Regions from separate parts of the Homo sapiens genome. Here all the other regions are linked to region 1. The links are contacts of gene promoters, found by promoter capture Hi-C in human tissues and cell types (Jung and others, 2019). All regions are on one chromosome and are shown on one strand. The core of a region is centred on a gene start or on the middle of the fragment in contact, and the rest is flanking DNA. Distances in the headings are between cores, read along the strand shown.

What was found. Contacts are between HindIII fragments. The study calls those that stand out against the background at their distance.
Region 2: a fragment that was not itself captured here is called in contact with the fragment with the promoter of MAN2A1 in region 1 in 1 of the 25 tissues and cell types used here (lymphoblastoid cells).
Region 3: a contact is called between a fragment that was not itself captured here and the fragment with the promoter of MAN2A1 in region 1, in 1 of the 25 tissues and cell types used here (dorsolateral prefrontal cortex).

Annotation. Positions count from the first base shown.
Region 1 is chr5:109,687,126-109,691,176 of GRCh38, reverse strand. MAN2A1 (mannosidase alpha class 2A member 1) reads right to left here and starts at 1,250. Exons shown (of 22, transcript NM_002372.4): 1 at 625-1,250. The coding sequence starts at 759. MAN2A1-DT (MAN2A1 divergent transcript) reads left to right here and starts at 78. Exons shown (of 1, transcript NR_186543.1): 1 at 78-3,376. RefSeq lists silencers at 387-486, 897-1,106, 1,137-1,656, 1,667-1,956 and enhancers at 2,067-2,166, 1,926-2,594. The HindIII fragment of the contact is 4,319 bases long and covers 1-3,301 here.
Region 2 is chr5:108,492,270-108,496,320 of GRCh38, reverse strand. No RefSeq gene overlaps it. Among named protein-coding and RNA genes, the nearest start is that of FBXL17, 110 kb to the right of the region's middle. The HindIII fragment of the contact is 5,361 bases long and covers 1-4,051 here.
Region 3 is chr5:108,652,299-108,656,349 of GRCh38, reverse strand. No RefSeq gene overlaps it. Among named protein-coding and RNA genes, the nearest start is that of LINC01023, 74 kb to the left of the region's middle. The HindIII fragment of the contact is 7,306 bases long and covers 1-4,051 here.

The DNA.
Region 1 (4,051 bases), core at 1-2,500:
GCGCTTCCCCACTCGGTTCCCCCTGTCTGCCACAAACAAACCAGATGTAATAGCTGAAGAATGACGACACTAAAATCAACCTAGAGATTCACATCTAAAAGGGCCGCAACACGAAATAAACTTCTCTCTCTTCAGAGGCAGCGGGGAAGAAAAAGAAAAAAAAGCCTAGGTGGGTTCGGTTTGATCCATTTCCGCGACTCCGTGCGCTCAGGGGCTCTGGGCTGGTGCGGGCGGCTTAACCCTGTGAGAGCCGAGAACGACCCCACCGGGATACGCGGGCCCCGGGCTGGCGGGGGGTGCCTCACGCCGCGCCCGTTCCCCCGCCAGCAGGTGCCCGAAGCCACCCCAACAGGCCGGGTGCGAATGCCGGAACATGGCCACTTTCCTGAGCGGGATGATGCCGCCGCCGCCGCCGCACGCCGCCCAGCACTTTGTTAACTTGGCGCGCCCGGGCGAGGTGGCTCCCAGGAGGTGATCATTGCCGTCCGAGAGCTACAGAGCCCCTGGCCTCGCCCAGCACGGGTGTGGGGCCGCGGCGGGAGGAAGAGGTTGGGTAGCAGCCGCTAACCAGGGGCCCGCACGCCTGGCCCCTCGGAGCCCCGCGCCCCCTTCCCAGGTGCTTACCTGAGGGAAGGAGCCCTCGCGGCGCGGGTTCCTGGGGTAGTCTAAGTGACCCCGGTCCAGCATCAGGTAGAGCGAGAAAATCACCACACAGAAGATCGCACTGCCGAACACGGTGAACTGGCGGCTTAACTTCATTTTCCTCGATAGACTCGGGGCCAGGACACTCTCCTCAGCCAAAGGAGACAGCGCACTGTGGACTCTAGGAAGCAGCCGCCGGAGGCTCCCTTCTCCCGGGCTGCGCGACCTCCGCGCTCTCGGATGCGGGTGCGAGTCCCCGCCTTGCTCCGCACCTAGTCTCCGGCGCCACCACACGCCCTTGGCCTTCGCCCTGGCCTGCCGCCCTCCCCGGGGTCGGGCGCCCCTCTCGAGGCGAGACTCGCCGGCAACTGGGAAGGGGGGCCCCCACAAACTTGATCGCAAGCTCAGCGCCGACCTCCGGCAGGGCGCGCGGGGCAGGCGGAGGAGAGGTCGCTGCCCGCACTTCCTGCCACCGCCGCCCCAACTGAGTCGGCAGGAAAAGTTTTCTCGACGAGGGCAGGCGTGTCCTCCTCACCCAGGGGAGGCGCGGGTTCGGCAGCTCCCGGGCCGGGGCCGCGCAGCTAGGTCAGAGAAGCGGAGGGGAAAGGAACAAGATCGCGAGGAGCCAAGCCCTACAACTTCTGGGCGGGACGGTCGGGCCCGCCCCCGCGGCACCGGCACCGCCCCCGCCTACCCCGACTGAGCCCCTTCGTGCTGCTGCCGCCGCCGCCGCCGACGCTGCGGCTGGGCCGATGTGCACCCCGGACTCCGGGGCTCACGGATTGATGAGTTTCCTCAGAGCTAGCGTCCGCTCGCCAGACTCTCCCGCCCCCCGCCGCCCCTACCTTCCCCCTCCCGGACCCAGGCTCCGCGGGGAGGCGCAGGGGGCGGGCGGCGGCAACGCGGAAAGAAGGAAAAGGAGAGCAGGGAGGAAAGGACCGTCCCCGGAGAGAAGCCCGCTCCAGCTGCAGCCGCTAGCCCCCTCCCTCTTTCCCGCCCCACAAACGCGGAGATGGCGGCGGAAGCGGCGAAAGGAAGCGCCGGTTCTCCAGCGCCACTTGGCGCTCCAGCACCGCCCGCCACGAGCAGGAGGAGACAGCGGCGGCGCAGCAGCCGCTGGGTCAATAGGCGCCCGCAGCGCCTGAGCCGAGCGGGCGGCTGGCCCCGCCCCCTCCCGACGCTCCGAGATGAGGGGGCGGGCCCCACGGCGCCCAATCACAGCGCGTCGCCCGGCGGACCCGCCCCGCGCCTGCCTCCCAGTGTCCCGGCGATAGGAAGACCTCACAGGGCTCTTGTGACCTGGCAGGCAGCTTTCTGGGAGTTGAGGCCTTCGGGGGCGTTCAGGCGCCAGCACCCCCACGTCCAACAGGGGTTGAGCTTACACCCCACTTCCCTTTGTTGCTCAGGTTTCCTATCCTAGGACACTCGGGCCTGGCGTGCCTGGAAGAGTACTTGGTGACGGGCTGGAGGAAATGCAAGAGAAGAGGGCTTGCACATTCTCTTCGGGCTCACTATTTCCTCCTTTGGTGACAGCCTGTTAAAACCTGGGGGAAAGGAGACTGACAAAGGGCCGTCCAGGCACATGTAGAAACATCTGACTACGAAATCCATGAGTGTAATCTGAGAAGTGATGCTTCTGCCAGTTATTGATTTATTGCCTCTCAGCTCCAAATTCGCCCTTTTTGACTGCACTGTAAAAACGGATCTGAGCCTTTTAAACAGTTTTTCGTTTGCCTTCTGGGACTGAAGCTTTATCAGCAGAGGGCGCTGAAGAGACATTACAGAAAAAAAGGATTTTGCTTCCTGATTTCTGTGTATTGATAAGCTTTTGCAGCATACCTGGCTTTCTCCACTGCCAAGGTCCTATAGTGCTCAGTAACTAGCAATTTCCTCTCACATGCCCAACTCTAGGAGCTTTGTAGAGGAGGTGAGACACTACCCCATGAATAACTTCCCTGGCACCCTAGAGGCATTTGCAGCAAGTTGCAGAGGGCACATCTTCCACAAGCTTTGCAGACGTAGCCCAATGGTGACTTCTCTGCCATTCAGTGAGCCAGGTCATGCCCTCTCCAAAAACGTCTAGATCTTAGCCCTGGGAGGAATTGGGGAGGTTCTTCATTGGGCACTCTGTCTCTCAACCCAAGAGTTAGTTATAAGGTTAGCTCCTTATAGCTGCTGTTGCTATATTCTTTAAAGTTCTCTTCTTGCTAGTGAATCCTTCATTACTCTAATCCTCTATTATAGTTAACAATTCTTTTTATTAAGCCTTCCCTGTCCCGGGAGTAGTCCCAAGAAATAGACCTGCAAAGATGGGATTAAAGGTCAGTTTGATTGAGGTTTTGAGCTTTAGCTCCTTGCCAAAGGGAAATGTAATTCATGACATGCTGGGCATCTCAATTAAGCAATTACCTGTGGTTGATCCTGATGAAGTGCCAACTGAAGCCTGTGCCTTGGGGCCCCAAGTGGCTGCTACACTTGACTGCTATGGTTATAAAGATGACTAGAAAGACTGGTGTGGGATGGATTCTTTTGCGTGCTTTTGAGTGGTTATAAAGAGAAATGACAAGCACAGGTTTTTTAACTCTCAGAGTTATGGTATGAGAACCAGAGATATTCTGCAGAATTCCAAAAGCTCTGGTTTATTGTAGCAACAAGAATTATGCTGAGAATCAAACAAAATTTTAATTTTCATGTTACTGAATTATAACTGCTATTAAATTCACACATATTCTGAGTTTTTCGTGTAAAATGGTGTTATTTTTTAATAATAGAATCTCAATACTTGAAATGGGTTGGACCCAGATGAAACCGACAATCTTAAACACGCCAACTCTTTCTCTTATCAGTGGAAGTAGGTTGCCCTCCAGTGTCTAAAGAGACTAGCCTTGCTTGAAAACCTTGACTATAGAGGATGCCACTATCTAGATGGGCTCCCTGATTTCAATGGGGATGACACGATCTCAGAATAGCAGAAACCAGGCAGCACATAACCAACAAAGACAAGGTGGGCGCACATGTACCTTAAAGGGCAGCAGGAAATCAGACTGCCTTGGCTTACGGAGCTGCTCTGAGAACAAAATAGATAGGCAGTTGAAATAGATTATTGCTTGATATTTATAACAGGTAAAAAGATCTAAGTCAGGTAGCCAAAACCTGACTTGAGTCACCACAGTGGATAGTCACAGTCTCTCAGTTCTCAGACCTAAGTCAATTCACAGACCCATAGTCCCTTGGTTGAAAGAGAATCTGTGTTCCCTTTAAGAAGGATCTTGCACCTTGGCTACAGTACACATGGCAAATTCTTTCAAGCTTTCCCCAAAACGACATGTGGCCATTTACTAGTGAAACTGCATTGGCGAAAAGGAAATACACAGATCATTTGAGGTTTACTAAACACTGGCTCTGAGTT
Region 2 (4,051 bases), core at 693-3,192, 1.2 Mb after region 1:
GTTTGGTTTTCTGTCCTTGCGATAGTTTGCTAAAAATGATGGTTTCCAGCTACATCCATGTCCCTACAAAGGACATGAACTCATCATCTATTATGGTTGCATAGTATTCCATGGTGTATATGTGCCATATTTTCTTAATCCAGTCTATCATTGTTGGACATTTGGGTTGGTTCCAAGTCTTTGCTATTGTGAATAATGCCGCAATAAACATACGTGTGCATGTGTCTTTATAGCAGCATGATTTATAATCCTTTGGGTATATGCCCAGTAATGAGATGACTGGGTCAAATGATATTTCTAGTTCTAGATCCTTGAGGAATCACCACACTGTCTTCCACAATGGTTGAACTAGTTTACAGTCCCACCAACAGTGTAAAAGTGTTCCTATTTCTCCACATCCTCTCCAGCACCTGTTGTTTCCTGACTTTTTAATGATCGCCATTCTAACTGGTGTGAGATGGTATCTCACTCTGGTTTTGATTTGCATTTCTCTGATGGCCAGTGATGATGAGCATTTTTCCATGTGTCTTTTGGCTGCATAAATGTCTTCTTTTGAGAAGTGTCTGTTCATATCCTTCGCCCACCTGTTGATGGGGTTGTTTGTTTTTTTCTTGTAAATTTGTTTAAGTTCTTTGTAGATTCTGGATAGTAGCCCTTTTTCAGATGAGTAGATTGCAAAAATTTTCTCCCGTTCTGCAGGCTGCCTGTTCACTCTGATGGTAGTTTCTTTTGCTGTGCAGAAGCTCTTTAGTTTAATTAGATCCCATTTGTCAATTTTGGCTTTTGTTACCATTGCTTTTGGTGTTTTAGATGTGAAGTCCTTGCCCATGCCTATGTCCTGAATGGTATTGCCTGGTTTTCTTCTAGGGTTTTTATGGTTTTAGTTTAACATTTAAGTCTTTAATCCATCTTGAATTAATTTTTGTATAAGGTATAAGGAAGGGATCCAGTTTCAGCTTTCTACATATGGCTAGCCAGTTTTCCCAGCACCATTTATTAAATAGGGAATCCTTTCCCCACTGCTTGTTTTTCTCAGGTTTGGCAAAGATCAGATGGTTGTAGATGTGTGGTATTACTTCTGAGGGCTCTGTTCTGTTCCATTTGTCTATATCTCTGTTTTGGTACCAGTACCATGCTGTTTTCATTACTATAGCCTTGTAGTATAGTTTGAAGTCAGGTAGTGTGATGCCTCCAGCTTTGTTCTTTTGGCTTAGGATTGTCTTGGCGATGTGGGCTCTTTTTTGGTTTCATATGAACTTTAAAGTAGCTTTTTCCAATTCTGTGAAGAAAGTCATTGGTAGCTTGATGGGGATGGCATTGAATCTATAAATTACCTTGGGCAGTATGGCAATTTTCACAATGTTGATTCTTCCTATCCATGAGTATGGAATGTTCTTCCATTTGTTTGTGTCCTCTTTTATTTCATTGAGCAGTGGTTTGTAGTTCTCCTTGAAGAGGTCCTTCACATCCCTTGCAAGTTGGATTCCTAGGTATTTTATTCTCTTTGAAGCAACTGTGAATGGGAGTTCACTCATGATTTGGCTCTCTGTTTGTCTGTTATTGGTGTATAAGAATGCTTGTGATTTTTGCACATTGATTTTGTATCCTGAGACTTTGCTGAAGCTGCCTATCAGCTTAAGGAGATTTTGGGCTGAAATGGTGGGGTTTTCTAAATAAACAATCATGTCATCTGCAAACAGGGACAATTTGACTTCCTCTTTTCCTAACTGAATACCCTTTATTTCTTTCTCCCGCCTGATTGCCCTGGCCAGAACTTCCAACACTATGTTGAATAGGAGGGGTGAGAGAGGGCATCCCTGTCTTGTGCCCGTTTTCAAAGGGAATGCTTCCAGTTTTTACCCATTCAGTATGATATTGGCTGTGGGTTTTTCATAAATAGCTCTTATTATTTTGAGATATGTCCCATCAGTACCTAATTTATTGAGAGTTTTTAGCATGAAGGGCTGTTGAATTTTGTCAAAGGCCTTTTCTGCATCTATTGAGATAATCATGTGGTTTTTGTCTTTGGTTCTGTTTACATGCTGGATTACGTTTATTGATTTTCGTATGTTGAATCAGACTTGCATCCCAGGGATGAAGCCTACTCATTCATGGTGGATAAGCCTTTTGATGTGCTGCTGGATTCGGTTTGCCAGGATTTTATTGAGGATTTTTGCATCAATGTTCATCAGGGATATTGGTCTAAAATTCTCTTTTTTGTGTGTGTCTCTGTCAGGCTTTGGTATCAGGATGATGCTGGCTTCATAAAATGAGTTAGGGAGGATTCCCTCTTTTTCTATTGATTGGAATAGTTTCAGATGGAATGGTACCAGCTCCTCCTTGTACGTCTGCTAGAATTCGGCTGTGAATCCATCTGATCCTGGACTTTTTTTGATTGGTAGGCTATTAATTATTGCCTCAATTTCAGAGCCTGTTATTTGTCTTTTCAGAGATTCAACTTCTTCCTGGTTTAGTCTTGGGAGGGTGTATGTGTCCACGAATATCTCCATTTCTTCTAGACTTTCTAGTTTATTTGCATAGAGGTGTTTATAGTATTCTCTGATGGTAGTTTGTATTTCTGTGGGATTGGTGGTGATATCCCCTTTATCATTTTTAATGCGTCTATTTGATTCTTCTCTCTTTTCTTCTTTATTAATCTTGCTAGCGGTCTATCAATTTTGTTGATCTTTTCAAAAAACCAGCTCCTGGATTCATTGATTTTTTTGTGTCTCTATCTCCTTTAGTTCGGCTCTGATCTTAGTTGTTTCTTGCCTTCTGCTACCTTTTGAATGTGTTTGCTCTTGTTTCTCTAGTTCTTTTAATTGTGATGTTAGGGTGTCAGTTTTAGATCTTTCCTGCTTTCTCTTGTGGGCATTTAGTACTATAAATTTCCCTCTACACACTGCTTTAAATGTGTCTCAGAGATTCTGGTATGTTGTGTCTTTGTTCCCATTGATTTCAAAGAACATCTTTATTTCTGCCTTCATTTTGTTATGTACCCAGTAGTCATTCAGAGGCAGGTTGTTCAGTTTCCATGTAGTTGAGCAGTTTTGAGTGAGTTTCTTAATCCTGAGTTCTAGTTTGATTGCACTGTGGTCTGAGAGACAGTTTGTTATAATTTCTGTTCTTTTACATTTGCTGAGGAGTGCTTTACTTCCAACTATGTGGTCAATTTTGGAATAAGTGTGATGTGGTGCTGAAAAGAATGTATATTCTGTTGATTTGGGGTGGAGAGTTCTGTAGATGTCTATCAGGTCCTCTTGGTGCAGAGCTGAGTTCAATTCCTGGATATCCTTGTTAACTTTCTGTCTTGTTGATCTGTCTAATGTTGACAGTGGGGTGTTAAAGTCTCCCATTATTATTGTGTGGGAGTCTAAGTCTCTTTGTAGGTCCCTAGGGACTTGTTTTGTGCATCTGGGTGCTCCTGTATTGGGTGCATATATGTTTAGGATAGTTAGCTCTTCTTGTTGAATTGATCCCTTTACCATTATGTAATGGCCTTCTTTGTCTCTTTTGATCTTTGTTGGTTTAAAGTCTCTTTTATCAGAGACTAGGATTGCAACTCCTGCCTTTTTTTGTTTTCCATTTGCTTGGTAGATCTTCCTCCATCCCTTTATTTTGAGCCTATCTTTGTCTCTGCATATGAGATGGGCCTCCTGAATACAGCACACTGATAGGTCTTGACTCTTTATCCAATTTGCCAGTCTGTGTCTTTTAATTGGACATTTAGCCCATTTCCATTTAAGGTTAATATTGTTATGTGTGAATTTGAACCTGTCATTATGATGTTAGCTGGTTATTTTGCTCATTAGTTGATGCAGTTTCTTCCTAGCATTGATGGTCTTTACAATTTGTCATGTTTTTGCAGTGGCTGGTACTGGTTGTTCCTTTCCATGCTTAGTGCTTCCTTCATGAGCTCTTTTAGGGCAGACCTGGTGGTGGTGATATCTCTCAGCATTTGCTTGTCTGTAAAGGATTTTATTTCTCCTTCACTTATGAAGCTTAGTTTGGTTGGCCATGAAATTGTGGGTTGAAAATTCTTTTCTTTAAG
Region 3 (4,051 bases), core at 774-3,273, 1.0 Mb after region 1:
GTCTTGTTCAAGTTTTAATGTGACATTATTTGAAAGGAATGTTTAGTTGTATTCAGTGTTTACGTAACACCTGCCGGTTTATTCTCTGAGTAATTTACAGCTCCTCTAGGGAATAGGAAAGTAACCACAAGGTAATCTGGCAGAAGAGGGGTTCTTTCTATAAATGCCAACCTGAGTGGTTAAACATGAAAAATTCGATCAAACAACTTGAGCTCTTGTCTATGTGATGCCAAAGACACACTTTTTACCCCCGAGTTAAAATAGTTACTTTGATATCACATAAACACAACTCATGGAATCAACATTGAATTTAAAAGGCATTGTAGGACTGAGATCCAGACCCTTTCCCCCTTGCTGCCACAGGCTGCATATACTTGAAGGGCTGCTTTATAGTGCAGCAGAAAAAAAATCTAGGAGTTTATGTTTGTCTTAGTAAGTGGCTTAGAAAAGGAACTAGAGATAGTTTATGCTTTTTCCCATATTCAGCTCAAATACCATTGAGAATTTTTTTTTCCAGATCTGAAGGGTGGGGGAACTTGTAGGTTTGGATTTTATATGTACATGTATGTGAGTTTCTGAATCAAGGTATTTCTGTTTCCACATGCTTTTTTAGCTGGCTTTATAAGTAATACTTACACTGTTTCTACCTGATTTTTCAAGTAATACATATTCACTTACAAAAAAAAAAAAAGACTACAAGCCGGCTACGTTGGCTCATGCCTGTAATCCCAGCACTTTGGGAGGCCAAGGCAGGAGGATTGCTTGAAGCCAGGAGTTTGAGACCAGCCCGGGTAACAAAGGAAGACCCTACCCCCAACCTGTCTCTACAAAAAAAAAAATTAATTAGTTAAAAATATGCATGTTGTAGCATCTATCAGTACTTCATTTCTTTTAAAAAAGACTACAATAAAATATTATTTTATAGCCACTTTATTAATTAAATTAAGAGATTTGGCATTCCAAGTACTGGAGAGGATATAAATCAACAGCATCTTTTATATGTCAAGAGTTTAATTGGTTTAACTACACTGAAAAATAATTTGGTATTATGTTGAAGAGTTGAGAATTCATAAACCTATGGCACAACAATTGTACTCCTTAGACTATGCCCAAAGGAACACGTACCAGGAATTATATACAAGAATGTTTACAGCAACCCTGTAACAGCAATAAGTAAACCAACCAACCAACAAAAACTGGAAACAATCGAAATGCCCAGCGACTAGGAAATGTATAAATTAACCATTGAATAATTAAGCATCAGTGAAAATGAGTGAGTTATAACTACATGCAACAGGCTGTATTAATCCAAGTAACATACTGCTGAATAAGAAAAGCAAGTCTCAGAAGACTGCATACAACATGATGTCCTTTAGTAAAGTTCAAAAGCAATGTGTACTAAACAACATTTCATTTCAGCATACACACATATAATAAAAAAGAAAAGTAAGAGAATGATAAACCCCAATTTAGGAAAATGATTATTTATGGCAGGAAAGCAAAAGCATGCAATAGGGAAGAGTATATGGGAGGGTTGAATCATTGTTATTGTTCTAATTATTGGATTATGTGGTAATTTGTGGGTGTTTGTTATGTTACCAAGAAATAAAATGAGACCATGCTATGAATGGGCCAAGGATGGTAGCATGCCATTAACCAAGAATGAAGATGAATCCAATTCTGTGTACCTGAAGTCCAGAGTTTAAAAATAAAGGACAGTAATTGTATACAAGCATAATAAGAAAAATCCATATTACCTGAAAGTACTTTTCTCAGTTTTAGGTAAACAGGAACCAGCTTCCTTATCTCTTCTTGGACTGCCATTCTTAGTAGGACTTCCACTCTCAGGAAGGCTAAAGCCAAAGGCGCATGCTGACCGAGGCTATGCTCTTTTAAAAGGATCCTCAAAGTCCCATTTAGCTTCTATGAGGCTTTTTAAAATCTCTGCCTTTATTAATCCTGCTGGTTCCCACCAACTTCTCTCTATTCCCTTCTCTCTTTCACATTGCTTCTGTTTATTATCTCTCATTGCTTCTGATTATTCATGACCTCAGTATCTTACCTTCTCTGTTATTTGGCTTTGTTCCCAAAACAAATGATTCATTCCAATGCCTTACATTGAGAACTCCTTGGGAGAGATCTATTTGGGAAAAGCTCATATATCAACAACCTAAAATGTCTCTAACCAGTAGATCGATTGCCTGCCCTGATTCATTCACTTGGGACCACAGGTAACAGCAAGGCAACTTTTGGGAAAATCTCATTTGAGAAGGGCTGTGGGCATGCTGGACATTCCCAAACGTGGCCCATCCAGGACAAGCCAGCTCATAATGTACAGCAACATAGGCAGGAAGAGCATAAAGTGATTAGGAAGAGGGAGGATTTCTATCTCCTTATGGTTTCAGGGAACATTAGCAACTCATTTTAGACTAATGTGTAAAGGATTCTTGGAGGAGGTTTTTTTGTGTTTTGTTTTTTAAAGGAAAAGGAAGGAATTTCACATTGACTTGGGAAAGCCTTAAACAAAGAATTGAGGAGAAAGGAATGAGCCTGCAATGAACGGAAGTGGGTTGAAATATTAGGATGTCTGACATGGTAAGAGAAGAGAGAAAGAGAGTCTGGTGTAACTGGTAGAGAGAGATTGGTGACAATATTAATCAATCCATTCATTCAACAAACATTTATTTTTGAATAGATACATGTACATGAATTAAAATATGTTAACCACTGATAATAGTGCCAGGTTTTGTTCCAGGTCTTGCTATATACCAGTAAATAAAACCACAAAAATATCTGCCCTGTGGAATTTATATTCTATTATTATTTAAGTTGGGTGCTTAAATAACTTGACTCACTTTATCTTCATGGGAGTACTCTGAAGTAGAGTCATCTATATGAGCTTGCGTGATCTACTCTCTGCCAGGCTCCACTCCAAAAGTTTTACACACTTTACTTCAGATACTCCTTACAACAACTCTATGAGTCAAGGTAATGTTATCACCCTCATTTTAGAGGTGGGAAAACTGAAGCATGTGGATAGGTTAAGTCACACAAGCAATAGGTGATAGAGCTGGGATTTAACTAGTGGATCTAGCTTCAGAGTCTGTGATTCTTGTTACTTTGTGATGCTACTTTTCTGCTGTGCTGTAATATTATTCAAGACACAGAGGTAGGTATCAAAACTCAGGTCTGACTCCACACAGTAGGTATTCTGGCTACAGTCATACACCATAAAATTGAGACTTTGAACTTGATCTATAGAACCATCAGAAGTTGTTAAGGAGTTTCGTGAAGGAGGTACAATGGCCCAAACAGGGAGAAGTAGAAAAAGAGAAAGAATGAAGGTGGTAGATTCAAGTAGGAAGTTGCAGACATCTAGGTGAGGGTGAAGAGTGTACAGATCAATGACTAACATGGGAATAAAGAGGTCAGAATGAATTGAGTCAATATTAGTTGCCAGTCTGCAGGAAAGTATCATCAACATTTGGGAAATGGCCTGATTTCAGATATTCTAAAAGAAGTAGAATGGGTCAGGCGCGGTGGCTCACACCTGTAATCGCAGCACTTTGGGAGGCTGAGGTTGGTGGATCACGAGGTCAGGAGTTTGAGAGCAGCCTGACCGACATGACCCCGTTTCTACTAAAAATACAAAAATTAGCTGGGCGTGGTGGCACACGCTTGTAATCCCAGCTACTTCAGGAGGCTGAGGCAGGAGAATTGCTTGAACCCGGGAGGCAGAGGTTGCGGTGAGACTCGATCCTGCCACTGCACTCCAGCCTGGGTGACAGAGGAAGACTCTGTGTAAAAAAAAAAAAAAAAATAGAATGAGATAAGCACAAGCTTTAATAATATTATATAAATACTGTATTATGAACTTTATGGACATGGCAAACAACACTTAAAAGAGGAAATTATATGAAATAAAAAGTGAATTTATCCTTTCTCTTTCTCCCCCAATACTAGTTTTTTAAAAATACAACTGATGATTATGATCATAACTCTAAATAATCAATTTCTGCATACATCAATTTAACAGTATCTGTTGATGCCT